5 separate regions of the Homo sapiens genome follow, and all the other regions are linked to region 5. The links are contacts of gene promoters, found by promoter capture Hi-C in blood cells and fetal thymus (Javierre and others, 2016). All regions are on one chromosome and are shown on one strand. The core of a region is centred on a gene start or on the middle of the fragment in contact, and the rest is flanking DNA. Distances in the headings are between cores, read along the strand shown. Region 1 overlaps SHB (SH2 domain containing adaptor protein B). Region 2 overlaps SHB (SH2 domain containing adaptor protein B). Region 3 has its middle 91 kb from the start of SHB. Region 4 overlaps SHB (SH2 domain containing adaptor protein B). Region 5 holds the start of SHB (SH2 domain containing adaptor protein B).

The links. The method cuts DNA at HindIII sites, captures the fragments that hold promoters and counts their contacts. A CHiCAGO score of 5 or more calls a contact.
Region 1: a contact is called between a fragment that was not itself captured here and the fragment with the promoter of SHB in region 5, in 5 of 17 cell types (M0 macrophages, monocytes, M2 macrophages and 2 more). The highest score is 9.6, in M0 macrophages.
Region 2: a fragment that was not itself captured here is called in contact with the fragment with the promoter of SHB in region 5 in 8 of 17 cell types (M0 macrophages, endothelial precursors, M1 macrophages and 5 more); the score reaches 12.9 in M0 macrophages.
Region 3: a fragment that was not itself captured here is called in contact with the fragment with the promoter of SHB in region 5 in 1 of 17 cell types (endothelial precursors); the score reaches 5.5 in endothelial precursors.
Region 4: a fragment that was not itself captured here is called in contact with the fragment with the promoter of SHB in region 5 in 3 of 17 cell types (monocytes, M0 macrophages and fetal thymus); the score reaches 6.4 in monocytes.

What each region holds. Positions count from the first base shown.
Region 1 is chr9:37,997,504-38,000,203 of GRCh38, reverse strand. All of the region lies in intron 2 of SHB (SH2 domain containing adaptor protein B), which reads left to right. Among named protein-coding and RNA genes, the nearest start is that of SHB, 70 kb to the left of the region's middle. RefSeq lists an enhancer at 2,025-2,526. The HindIII fragment of the contact is 7,612 bases long and covers 1-2,700 here.
Region 2 is chr9:37,947,292-37,949,991 of GRCh38, reverse strand. SHB (SH2 domain containing adaptor protein B) reads left to right here. Exons shown (of 6, transcript NM_003028.3): 5 at 1,238-1,357. Among named protein-coding and RNA genes, the nearest start is that of SLC25A51, 45 kb to the right of the region's middle. The HindIII fragment of the contact is 577 bases long and covers 1,033-1,609 here.
Region 3 is chr9:38,158,833-38,161,532 of GRCh38, reverse strand. No RefSeq gene overlaps it. Among named protein-coding and RNA genes, the nearest start is that of SHB, 91 kb to the right of the region's middle. The HindIII fragment of the contact is 4,001 bases long and covers 1-2,700 here.
Region 4 is chr9:37,979,806-37,982,505 of GRCh38, reverse strand. The region is part of intron 2 of SHB (SH2 domain containing adaptor protein B); the gene reads left to right. Among named protein-coding and RNA genes, the nearest start is that of SLC25A51, 77 kb to the right of the region's middle. The HindIII fragment of the contact is 257 bases long and covers 1,125-1,381 here.
Region 5 is chr9:38,067,887-38,070,586 of GRCh38, reverse strand. It overlaps SHB (SH2 domain containing adaptor protein B), which reads left to right and starts at 1,360. Exons shown (of 6, transcript NM_003028.3): 1 at 1,360-2,658. The coding sequence starts at 1,942. RefSeq lists silencers at 950-1,759, 2,180-2,229 and an enhancer at 2,120-2,700. The HindIII fragment of the contact is 5,108 bases long and covers 1-2,700 here.

The DNA.
Region 1 (2,700 bases), core at 39-2,538, 70 kb after region 5:
TGGTCTGCCAGCAGCAGCAATTCTCGCTGACTTCTCGCTCCCTCTCTTTTCTCTCTCCACTGCCTGTGGGAGGGATGGACATCCGTTCTGTTGTCTCCTTGAAGCTACCTGTGCAAGTCCTGAGGACCCAGCCCTGGGCCTGTGGAAAGGAATGGAAACCACCCACTCAGGTGTGGTGCCCCAGCCTCGTGGCTCTTCTTGTCAGCCTTCACAAAGCTGTGATTCATACTGGAATCTTGTAAATCTCTGAATGGCCAAATAGAACAGGGCTGGGGGTAGAGGGCATGGGGTGACTAGTGGAGAGAGTCATGAGCTGGAGGCTGCAGGAGTGAATTGCAGCTCCTCCGACAGCCGGTTTGAGCTTGGACAAGGCATGCCTCAGTTTCTCCATCTCTGAAGTCAAGGCTTCAGCCAGATCCTAAGGTGACTTTAGTGCTAACCTGTCCTGGTAGTGGTGGCAGTCACACAAAGACACGCTGGATGCACACAGGGACACAATCTCCCAGAACACAGAAGCCTCCCACGTGCTGCTGGTGGTTGGGCTGCTGCCTCGGCTGCCTTTGTTTGTCCCCAGTCTCTGTCAGACCTCCACTCAGTATGCGGCGCTTGGTGTCTGCAGCTTCCACTCAGCACTCCAGAAACCTGTTTGTGAGCTCAAGTCACACTAGCCTCCCTAGGGGATATCTTTCCACAGAAGCCTACTTTCGAATTGGGCCTAATTGTAGCATATATACCTTTAAATAATTTTTTTTAGTGTATTTGAAACAGCTGTCATTTTGCATGTGCATCAGCTGAATAAAGTGGAGCAGCCATTTGAGCTCCTGGTCACCCCGAGTCTGCAGCAGGCTTCCTTCACCCCTTGCAGGAGAGAGACCTCAGGGAGGAGAGAAGCTAGGAGGTTTGAGAACAGAGTGAGATCAGCTCGCCTGCTAGTCTCAGCCTTTCACAGATCCCTCCTCACTGTCCCCTGATGAGTTTCCCAGGCCTGGCTAGATCATGTTACTTTCCTGCTCAGAGATCTCCACTGGGTTCCTCAGATCTGAGCCCAGACTTTCCAGGCCTTCCTCAAATCCCACACCCTATAGGGTTCCCAGGGTCCAGCAGCACCCCATCACCCACTTGCTTTCCTGTGTAAACGCTCACTGTCCTCCTCACTGAGGGGCTCCCCAGGGCTCTGTGATCCCGCAGGGACTTCCTCCCTCTTGTTCTGCCTTGCTCTTGAGTTCCTCCAGCAGCCTGGGCAGGGCCTGAGTGACTCACAGTGGGTTCCCCAGAGCCTAGCACAGAGCTTGGCTCTTGGGAAGAGCTGGTTGAAACTGGATGAAAAATGGGCCTTTCCTCTGCTTCCATCTCATCCTTGCCTTTGAAGTCAGTTTAATGGCTGCAAACATATTAATCATTTGGATTTCCTGTTTGTCCCTGAAAAATAAGCATTCAAAATAGGATTTCGAGGACAGGCAGGGCAGCTCACACCTGTAATCCTAGCACTTTGGGAGGCCGAGGAGGGTGCATAGCTTGAGCTCAAGAGTTTGAGGCTAACCTAGGCAACATGGTGAAACCCCGTCTCTACTAAAAATTCAAAAATTAGCTGGGCGTGGTGGCGTGTGCCTGTAGTCTCAGCTATTCGGGAGGCTGAGGCAGGAGGATTGCTTGAGCCCAGGAGGTGGAGGTTGCAGTGAACTGAGACCGTGCCACGGCACTCCAGCCTAGGTGACAGAGCCAGACCCTGTCTTTAAATAAATAAACAAAATAGGATTTTGAGACCATCAGAACATGTGCTTTCCTGGATTTGAAAACAGGCGATGCAGAGACCATGTATCTGGCCCTGAGGGTGGTGGGGGAGGTTGTGAGTCTCTGGGGCGCCTGCAGTTCTGGGAAGTTTACCGTTTATGGAGTCCTTGGTGGTCAGGAAGCCCAGGCCAGCAGGATAGCGGTCCAGCTCAGTACTGTGTTGGGGCCCTGGCCCTAGTGCTTCCCTCCCTCCTCCCTCCTCCCTCCAAGCTGCCTGCTCCCGGCCACTGGTGCCTTGGAATCGTAACTCAGAGCTCAGAGCAACAGGAATGCTGTAAATCCCCGTCGCGCTCCCCTTTACAAGCAGGCAGTTGGGCACGGCGGCACTTTACAAGAGAAAGCAGCTCCACCACAGCAGAATGCAGCAAGTGCCTGTCACACGGGCTGTCCTGCCACTGCCTCTGCTTGCTCGGTTGGACACAGTGGGTACCACAAGCCAGGAAGAAGCATCACTCTTGTTCATCCCCATCCCATCCCAGGGCCCTCTGCCCCTTAGCAGGGTCTCCTCCTGGGCCTCAGGCCCCCAGGGCCTTGTTGTCCTTTCTGCCACTTGCCCTTGTCACACAGTGAGAAGCTGCTGTCGCCCTGGACAGCTGTTGTTTGATAAGCTGGCCATCTGCCCTGGGGTGATGGAGCAGAGTGCCTCGGCCTCCGTGTCTCTGTGATGTGAGAGGTACAGGGTTCCAGTCCTGAGGTGGTGGAGCTGGACAGCCCAGAAGGCCAACCACAAAGATGAGATAACTTGGGGTAGCAGTACTTTAGGAGTTTTGCCCACTCTGCAGTCATTTTGTACCCTCCTGTGCCAGCTTCTACACTGGGCGTCCAGAGATTGACATAAATGAGATCCAAGCCCCAGTGGATGTGGACTCAGGTCTGACATGTCTTGGGCTTTACTTTGCGCTGTGGGGA
Region 2 (2,700 bases), core at 72-2,571, 120 kb after region 5:
GCACTCCAGCCTGGGTGACGGGGTGAGACCCTGTCTCAAAAAAAAGAAAGAAAAGCATTGCTCCCATTTCCTCCTCTGATGGGAGATGAGGGATGAGTCGGGCCCTCTGCACGGCACTCCTCCCCTCAGATTCTGCCGCCTGCCCTCCTCTGGCATGCATGGCATCTGGGAGCAGTAATGCTGGGATTCCCACATGCCCAAGTGGTGCTAGAGCCGTCTGGCAGGAGCATGGACAGCTACCTCCCTGCCCACCATCCATGTCTGCACACATCCCTGAGTCAGAGCGTGGCCCTCCCATCAGCACCCTCTGATGGTTTCCATGTTGCTCAAACAGAGAAAAGCCCCTGCTGCAGCCCCATTTCGGGACGTCTTGCACACCCCTTCCCCTTGCTGCTTCTGTCCATGCTGGCCCCTAGCTGTTTCCAGAATACGCTAGGCAGCCTTCTGCCTTGGCCTTCGCTGCTGATTTGTCTACCAAGAAAGCTCCTCTCTGGCTTCCCTCCTTGCCTCCTGCAGGTCTGCACTGAAATGTCACTTTTTTTTTCTTTCTTCTTTTTTTTCCATTTTCTTTTTTCTTTTTCTTTTTTTTTTTTTTTTTTGAGATGGAGTCTTGCTGTGTCTTCCAGGCTGGAGTGCAGTGGCATGATCTTAACTCACTGCAACCTCCGCCTCCCAGGTTCAAGTGATTCTCCAGTCTCAGCCTCCTGAGTAGCTGGGATTACAGGCGCCCACCACCACGCCCGGCTAATTTTTGTATTTTTAGTAGAGATGGGGTTTCGCCATGTTGGCCAGGCTGGTTTTGAACTGACCTCAGGTGATCCAACTGCCTTGGCCTCCCAAAGCGCTGGGATTACAGGCGTGAGCCACCTCACCTTGAGAAGGCTTCCCTGGCCACCCTGCCTGAAATAGTCCCTCACCAGCCCCCAGCTCCATGAGCCTATGCCACTTCATCTCCATGATGCCTGTCCTCACACTGTGCTCTGTGATGACTTGAGTGTCTGTGGCCTGACTCCCTGCACCAGAGCATAAGCTTCCCGTGAAAAGAGACTGGGTTTTGTTCACTGTGCTCTCCCCAGGACCCGGCAGCAGCAGGCGGGCAGTGGGTACCCATGGAATGAACCAGTGCATGCCTGCTTGTACAGGGAGGCTCTCTGCGGGTGCTGAGTCTCCCAAGGCAGGTCAGGGCCATGGGAATCCCATCGCGCTGGGCTCTGACCACTCTCTGCCCTCTCCACAGATGGTATCACGGAGCCATCAGCAGAGGAGACGCCGAGAACCTGCTGCGACTCTGCAAGGAGTGTAGCTACCTTGTCCGGAACAGCCAGACCAGCAAGCATGACTACTCCCTCTCCCTGAGGTGAGTGCCGCCCCGAGCACCCCCAGCCCTCCTCGGCAGCCTCTGCGAGCGCAGCCGGCCACCGTGTCTGTGGCAGAAAAACCCGCCAGTGTCCCCTGGGAAACTTGCCAGCACACGTTATTTTAGGCCTGGGTTTTTCAATTTGATCCTATTCTCCTGGGATACAGAGGAGTTTTTATGTTCACTGTTGCTGCCCTTCCAGAAGATGAGGGGCCTTTTTCTAGGATTTTGTATTAACTATCCAAGAAAGCTTTCACATCTGCTGTGAGCCGGGGTGGTACGAAGTTCCTAGCATGCCTCATCCTGCTCTCAAAGCCCACGACGATGGTCCTTTGATTTTTTTGAGGAACATATCGTCGCCAATTTGCAGATGAGTAAACAGGTTCACGGAGGTGGGTGTGGCTGGCCCAAGTGGCTGGGCCAGGACTTGTGACCAGCCCATGACTCTCTGCCACTGTGAGCATGACCTAGCTCTGGCTTGCGGTTTGTGTGGGCCTGAGTTTGGGTGTTGCACAAAGTCTAGGAGGAGCACTGGGAAGAGGTGGTGTTACTGCCTATCGCAGCTTTGGAAACTTTCAGGTCTTTCTGACCTGTGAGGCATTTCTGTCAGGATGGGCAGGCCCAGAAATAAGAAAAGCATGTTTTAGTTGGGTGCTATTGCTGGACGGGACCCAAAAGAATGCCTAAACCCATTTTACAGAAAAACTGAGGTCCAGAAAAAGAAGGGATTTGCCAAGGACATATAGAGAGCTGGTGACATAACTGGGGTGTAAACCCAGGCTCTTCAGCCAGCACAGATCCCCCAGAAGCAGTGAATCCCTCTGCCTGGCATCCTCTCTGTCCCACTTACCGCTGTTAGAGGCCATGGGAGGGAGAGCCGGCCTGCAGGGACACGGTTGTCAGGAGAGCTCACACACATGCCGGCCCTGTAGACAGAGGCTTCAGTAAAACCAAGGAAGGTGAAACTGGCCTGTGTTCTCTGCTCACGACTGACCCCTCCCCCCACAACTTCTGGGCTTTGCCCTGAGAGAGACAGTGACAAACTGCAGAGTCAGGAGGGCGGCAGGCATGGGCAGAGGCAGGTAGGGCAAGGCACACAGGCTGTGGGAGTCCACCTAGAGAAGAGAGAGCATGTGGACACGGGGTGGGGACCATGCATCTCTCAAGGACTGTCAGGGCAGAGGGAGCTGATGTACAGACAGGGGACTTGTGGGCAGACAATGCATAGACAGATTCCAGCTCTGCAAGAGGAAAAGTTTCCTAATAGCCAGAGCAGATCAAGAATTAGAGCTACCCAAGCTGCCTCAAGGTAGTGAGCCTGTCATCACTAGGGGAATAAGACC
Region 3 (2,700 bases), core at 101-2,600, 91 kb before region 5:
TTTAAAAAATTAGATACAACATTACATGTGCACTACATATACCAATGTATGTGCACAGGGAAACTGGAAAGGGATATATTAAAAGTTGTATCAGTGTCAGCGATGTGATATGAGTGATTATTTCCTCTATGCCCTTACTTGCATTGCTTTTCTTAAAATAAAATTCTGATTGAGGAGATGAGCCATAGACCAAACAACAGTGATGCTAAGTGAACACTGCTTGTTGCCCAGAGAGAGGGTAGATATGGAGCTGGGGAACTCAAGAGAAGGATATCTTTATTACCTCCAGCTGGAGAGATCAGAAAAAAATGACGAAGGAAGCAGCATTTGAAATGGGGTTTCAGCAACAGGAAGGACTTGAACAGGGAGCAAAGTGTGCCAGGTGGGAAAGAAAATTGAGATTGAGAGAAAAGGATAAATGGGCGTGGAAGAGCACCACATTTAGGGAAGGAGGAGACATTCCCTGTGGCAAGAGCAGAGGGTACAAAGTGGAGATCAGTAAGAAATCAGGCCACATTGCAGAGGTTTTAAGCTGGCGACCTTCAGGCCACATTGGCCCAGTTTTTTTTACTCACTGGTGGGGTGATCACATATTTCTAAATTAGGTGCTATGGCTCTCATCTCTAACCCTATCCCCTCTAAATTTGCCTTTTATGATGACAGCTGGGACACTAATATTCTGCTTGGCCTGCTGACGATCTCTTAGCCTCTGCCAACAGGGGGCGCTAGAGAGAGATCACAAGGTGGAAGAGCCAGGGAACCACACAATGAAGGTGGGAGCCCTTCCTGATCTGGCTTTAACTTGTAAGGTTCGATACGCACACGTCATATGATCCAGCAACCCCACTCCTAGGTATGTCTTTGAGAATCTCTTCCATGCGCCCTGGGAGGCATGACCAAGAATGTTCATAGTAGCGTTTCATGATAGCAAAATACTAGAAGCAAACCAAATGCCTAATAGCAAAAGAATAGATAATACGTGGTGTTTTACACAGTGAGATATTACACAGCAGGGAAAATGAATGAACTAAGCTACAGGCATCAACATGGATGAATTTTAGAAACAACGTTAGGTGAAAAAAAGTAATTTACAGAAGACTGTGAATATTTTATTGTAATATCAAACAGTATGATTTTTTTATAAAGTTCAAATGCAAATAAAAGTAAATAATATATGGCTTTGGAATATGAATATATGTGCTAAAACTATCACAAAACAGCCAGGAAATCATAAACACCAAAGCCTGGGTTGTGGTCATTTGTAGGGGAGGTGAGGGCTAGAATAAGAAAGAGGTACCCAGACACATGCAAGAGTACCAGGAAAGTTCTAGTTCCAAAAGTGGATGGTGAGCTCATGGGTGCTAATTTTACTATCATGTTTTGCAATGAATATATGCATTACAAATATTGTTCTATATATATATAAAACATTTCCTAATAGACATCTTGAAAAATTCAATCATAAAATAGCTTGTGACCAAGAAATGGTGTTTTCAGGAGGATCCTGTGGGCTCTGCCCACAAATGTACTGGTGGCTGAGGTCTGGGTGAGGATGGAGGTGCTGGGTTGGACTCTGGCCAGCACCATGTCCAGGTATCCCACCTGTTTGCTGCATCCCCAGGCACAGCCACCCTTGAGAGGAGTCAGGAGAGCCTTGACCTGGACATCTGGACCAGCTTCCAGTTCCACGTCTAGCTTACCGAGTGACCTTGATCAAGCTCCCTCACCTCAGTTTTCCCATTTGTACAATGGGAGAGTAGGGAACAGGTGATTACTCAAAGCCTTCATTCTGGTGTTATCGAGTGGCCCAGGTGCCTTGATGGAAAAGATGAGTTAGGAGCTTGATGGTCCTGCTGTCACCAGCTGGGGGACTTTGGGCCTTTTAAGAAGCAGCTTAACTTCTCTCTGCTTAGTTTCCTCATTTGTTAAATGGGGATGGATCAGGTATCTGCCTCATAGGATTATTGTGAGAATGAAATAAAATAATACTTGTAAAGCATCTAGCATAGAGTCTGGAAGAGAAAGCCCCCAGTAGACAGCAGCCATTGTGTGGACGACCAGGCAGCCTGAGTGGCCACACCCTGCTGTGGAAGTGTCCTCCCAAGGGCCACACTCCAGGAGGTGCACCTGGCCCATGTCAGGCCAGGCCTTTTCCCGCTTTCATCATCACTGGCTCCCCCAGTGCTGTCAGGATTAGCTCATTAGTGTGACATTCAGGGCCCCTGCCACCTCTTGCCAACCTCCCTCCCAGCCTTCCTATGGTGCATCCTTCCTTCCTGGTGCATCTGATGGTGTCTGAGTCTAGTCTGATGCCCCGGGGTAGATTCCCACTCCACTTCAAACCAAGGGTGTTAATCCTGTTCACCCCACTCATCAGTAACAGGCCTGAGGCTTACTCCACAGCTCCGGGGATGCAAGGACCATTGCACACTTTCCATAATAAAACCAGTTTGCCCACCCATGTCCATGGTCGACAAGCAGTCCCTCCACCTCCCTTATATGTTACAGAAAGCCCCCAGGCTTACACAGTCCAGTTCTCAGGGCCACTGTCCCTTGTGGTCATGGCTGCCCCGCTTCTTGCTCAGACCCCTGGGGGCCATCCAAACGCAGTTCATTGTGCTGGTCATCCTACTCCTCCTTCTCCACCATGCAAGGCCATGGGGGTCCCTGCTGAGGCTCTTGGGGCTCCCAGGCTCCCAT
Region 4 (2,700 bases), core at 4-2,503, 88 kb after region 5:
ATCCATTTTTTTTGAGACGGAGTTTTGCTCTTTTGCCCCGGCTGGAGTAAAGTGGCGCAATCTCAGCTCACTGCAACCTCCGCCCCCTGGGTACAAGCAATTCTCCTGCCTCAGCCTTCCCAGTAGCTGGGATTATAGGTGCCCACCACCACACCCCTCTAATTTTTGTATTTTTAGTAGAGACGGGGTTTTACCATGTTGGCCAGGCTGGTCTCGAACTCCTGTCCTCAGGTGATCCACCCCCCTTGGCCTCCCAAAGCGCTAGGAGTACAGGCGTGAGCCACCACATCTGGCCCATCTTCTTTCAAAATACAGATTTTGAGACTCTCCATAATAAAATGTTTAGGCATACTTCATTTTATTGTGCATTGCTTCATTGTGGTTTGCAGGTATTGCATTTTTTTTTTTTTTACAAAATGAAGGTTTGTGGCAACCTTCCTTCAAGTAAGTCTATCAGCATCATTTTTCCAACAGCGTGTGCTCATTTTGTGTCTCTGTGTCACATTTTGGTAATTCTCATATTTCAAACCTTTTTATTATTATAGCTGTTACGGTGACCTGTGATCAGTGATCTTTGATGTTACTGTTGTAATTGTTTTGGGGCACCACAAACTGCACCCACAGAAGATGGCGAACTTAATAAATGTTATGTGTGTTCTGACTGCCCCACTGACTGACCATTCCTTCATCTCTTCCCCTCTCCTTGGGCCTCTCTATTCTGTAAAACACAACAATGTTGAAATCAGGCCTATTAATAATTCAACAATGGCCTCTACATGTTCAAAGGAAAGGGAGAGTCACACATCTCTCACTTTAAACCAAAATCTTGGAAATAAGCCTAGTGCAGAAGTCATGTCAAAAACCGAGATCTGCCAAAAGGTAGGCTTCTTGCACCGAATAGTTAGCCAGGTTGTGGATGTAAAGGAAAAGTTGAAGAAAATTAAAAGTGTCACTCCTGCGAATACACAATTGAAAAGAAAGCAAAACAGCCTTGTTGCTATTAGAGAGAGAGTTTGGTCTAGATAGAAGCTCAAACCAGCCACAAATTCCCTTAAATCAAAGCCTAATCTGGAGCAAGGCCCTAACTCTTCAATTCTGTGAAGGCTGAGAGAGTGGAGGAAGCTTCAGAAAAGCTAACAGAGGTTGATTTCTGAGGTTTAAGGAAAGAAGCCATTTCCATAACATGGAAGTGTGTGGTGAAGCAGCAAGTGCTGATGTAGAAACTGCAGCAAGTTATCCAGAAGATCTAGCTGAGGTCATCGATGAAGGTGGCTATGCAAAACAACAGATTTTCAGTGTAGACAAAGCAGCCTTCTATTGGAAGAAGATGCCATCTAGGACTTTCAGAGCCATAGGGAAGTCAATGCCTGGCTTCAAAGCTTCAAAGGACAGGCTGCCTCTCTTGTTAGGGACTAATGCAGCTGGTGATTGTAAGTTGAAGCCAGTGCTCATTTGCCATTCTGAAAAATCCTGGAGCCCTTAAGAATTATGCTAAATCTACCCTGCTCGTGCCCTGTGAATGGAACAACAAAGCCTGGATGGCAGTTCCTCTGTTTACAGCATGGTTTACTGAATATTTTAAGCCCACTTTTGAGACCAACTTTAAGGAAAAAAAGATTCCTTTAAAGATACTACTGCTGATTGACACTGTTCTTGGTCACCCAAGAGCTCAGCTGGGGATGTACGAGGAGATGAATGTTGTTTTCATGCCTGCTAACACAACATCCATTCCGCGGCCCATGGATCAAGGAGTAATCTCAACTTTGAAGTCTTATTATTTAAGAAATACATCTCATAAGGCTATAGCTGCCAGAGATAGTGATTCCTCTGATGGACCTGGGCAAAGTAAACTGAAAACCTTCTGGGGAAGATTTACTGTTCTAGAAGCCATTAAGTACATTTGTGATTCATGAAAGGGGTCAAAATAGCCACATTAACAGGAGTTTGGAAGAAGAGTCCAGTCCTCACAGATGACTTTGAGGCCTTCAAGACTTCAGTGGAGGAAGTAACTGCAAATATGATGAAAATAACAAGAGAACTAGCATTAGAAGTGGAGTCTGAAGATGTAACTGAATTGCAGGAATCTTATGATCAAACTTGAACAAATAAAGAGTTGCTTCTTATGGATGAGCAAAGACAGTTTTCTTGAGATAGAATCTATTCCTGATGAAGATGCTGGGAACATTGTTAAAATGACAACATAGGATTTAGAATAGTACATAAACTTAGTTGATGAAGCAGCAGCAGAGTTTGAAAAGATTGACTCCAATTTTGAAAGAAGTTCTGCCGTGGGTAAAATGTTATAAAACAGCCTTTCGCTAAGAGAAATCTTTCGTGAAAGGAAGAGTCAATCTATGTGGCAAATTTTATTGTCTCATTTTAAGAAATTCCCACAGCTGGGGGGAGGGGCATAAAAAATTTTCCACAGCCACCTCAGCCTTCAGGAACTACCACCCTGATCAGTCGGCAGCCGGCAACATCAAAGCAAGACCCTCCACCAGCAAAAAGATGACTCACTGAAGGCTTAGATGATTGTAAGCAGTTTTTGGCAATAAAATATTTTTAAAATTAAGGTTCTACATTTTTTTAAGGCAGTGGTATTGCACATTTAATAAACTACAGTATAATATAAATATAACTTTTGTGTGCATTGGAAAACCAAAAAATTTTACAGGTACCTGCCACCATGCCTGGCTAATT
Region 5 (2,700 bases), core at 111-2,610:
CCTGGGTGCAGATCCCAGGAAAAGTTACACTGACCAAATCAGGCCACTCCCTGGGACTGTTTCCTCAATTTTGGTTAATAATCAAAGGATGATCTGAAATCGCAAAGAAGAGACTCTTGGAAAAGACATAATTATGGTGCCACCCGACTTAGGAACTGGCATCCAAGTCCACCTGTGTGACTTTCCTCTGGGCCTCAGTTTCTCCATCTGTAAAATGAGGTCCTGTATTTATTTTTTGAGACGGAATCTCCCTCTGTCGCCCAGGCTGGAGTGAAGTGGTGTGATCTCGGCTCACTGCAACCTCTGCCTCCCAGGTTCAAGCAATTCTCTGCCTCAGCCTTCCGAGTAGCTGCTGGGATTACAGGTACCCGCCACCACACCCGGCTAATTTTTGTATTTTTAGTAGAGACGGGGTTTCACCATCTTGGCCAGGCTGGTATTAAACTCCTGACCTCGTGATCCACCCGCCTCGGCCTCCCAAAGTGCTGGGATTACAGGCGTGAGACACCGCACCCGGCCGAGGTCCTGTATTAAATGGATCCTTGCCAGCTCCTACAACATAAGGCATTAAATGTTCCCACAACTTGCTCCCCGCCGGCTGGCAGCGAACAGGGCTAAAGCCTCGACTTCCTCAGAGGTGAAAAGGTAAGCAAACATTCCGACCTCCCCTAGCCTTGCTCTCGGATTGGTGCTGGGCCCGGCTCCCACCGCCTATCCCGACCACATCCGTCATCTGGACTGCTAATACACTCATTAGCATAAAGATTCCTCCGAAGACCTGGCGCACGGGGCTGAACCGGAGTCTGTCCCTTTAAGGAAGAGGGACAGCCACTCTGTCCCTAAGGGCACTAGGCACTGCATTTCCTCCACACGGGCCACGCTGTAAACTAGACAGGTTCCGTGTTAATCCACTCTCCCTCCTCAACCCCGACAGGGGGATCCCTGGAGTGAACAACGCGCGGGGTCCCGGGGGACTGCGGAAAGGTTTGGCCTCTGCGCGTAGCAGGCTCCGCCAGGCAACCTCTCGCCCGAGGCGGCGGCGAGCTGCAAGCTAGGTGGAGCCGGCTGCGCGGCGGGACCCCAGCGCCCTGGGGCAAGACCCTGGTGCTGGCGCCAGGGCAGCCGCGGGAGGTGGCGTGTGCAGGAGCGGAGAGGTGCGCCCACCCCGGCCCCGGGCGCGAGGGGGGCGGGGCTTGGGCCGCGGCCCGGGGCCAGGCTCGCGGGGATGGGCGGTGCTGGGTCTGCGGGAGCGGGCGGGGGGCGGGGCGCGCGAGCGGGCTCCGGGGGGGCGGGGCGGCGGCGCGGGGCGGGCTCTGGCGGCCTGAGTGTCACACACGCGGCGGCTCGGGAGGCGGCGGCAGTGGCAGCGACAGGCGCCGCCGGGACGGGCACGGGCGCGCGGGCTCCGGCGGGCGCCGGCTGCCTTCCTCCGTCGCTCGCTGTCTCTCCCGGCCGCATTCTCCTCCGCTGCGGGGCCGAGCTCTCCCCAGCGCTCGCAGGAAGGAAGAAGGGAGCCGAGGACGCCGAGAAGTTCCCGCGGCAGCCGCGGATCCCGGCCAAGGCGGAGGCTGCGGCTCCGACGGGGCAGGAGCGCGATCCACGGCGAGGGGCGTACGGCCAAAGGGTCCGCGGCGTGGAGCGCTCGGACCTTCCGCTCTCCCCCGGGCGTGGGCCGGGACCCCATGAGACGCGCCCACGAGGGGCGCGAGATTCCTAGCTTGGGCGGCGCTAGGCGGAGGGAGGTGTTGCAGCCGCCGGAGCCAGAGAGCTGCCGGCAGGAGGCGGCGGCGGCAAGAACTTGAACTTGGCGTCGGGAGCGGGCGCCCCGGACGCCCCCCGCCGGGGCCGGGGCGCCGAGGGACCTGCGCCGCAGCGCTGCCCCCCGAATGGCCGCGGCGGCGGACCGGGCTCCCGCGCCGCGGCCCTAGGCGGCCTCTCGCCATGGCCAAGTGGCTAAACAAGTACTTCAGCTTGGGCAACAGCAAGACCAAGAGCCCCCCGCAGCCGCCGCGGCCAGACTACCGCGAGCAGCGGCGCCGAGGCGAGCGGCCTTCGCAGCCCCCCCAGGCCGTGCCGCAGGCCTCCTCCGCCGCCTCGGCGTCCTGCGGTCCGGCCACCGCCTCCTGCTTCTCAGCCTCTTCGGGCTCGCTGCCCGACGACAGCGGCAGCACCAGCGACCTCATCCGCGCCTACCGCGCGCAGAAGGAGCGAGACTTCGAGGACCCCTACAACGGGCCTGGCTCGTCGCTGCGCAAACTGCGCGCCATGTGCCGCCTGGACTACTGCGGCGGCAGCGGGGAGCCAGGCGGGGTCCAGCGCGCCTTCTCGGCCTCGTCCGCGTCGGGCGCCGCGGGCTGTTGCTGCGCCTCCTCGGGCGCGGGGGCCGCCGCGTCCTCGTCCTCGTCCTCCGGCTCTCCGCATCTCTACCGCAGCAGCAGCGAGCGGCGGCCCGCCACGCCGGCCGAGGTGCGCTACATCTCCCCCAAGCACCGCCTCATCAAAGTGGAGAGCGCCGCGGGCGGTGGGGCCGGGGACCCCCTGGGGGGCGCCTGCGCGGGCGGCCGCACCTGGAGCCCGACGGCCTGCGGAGGCAAGAAACTGCTCAACAAGTGCGCCGCCTCAGCCGCGGAGGAGAGCGGGGCCGGCAAGAAGGACAAGGTAAGGTGCCCCTTGGCCTCTTCCCGAGGTTCCAGAGCCACG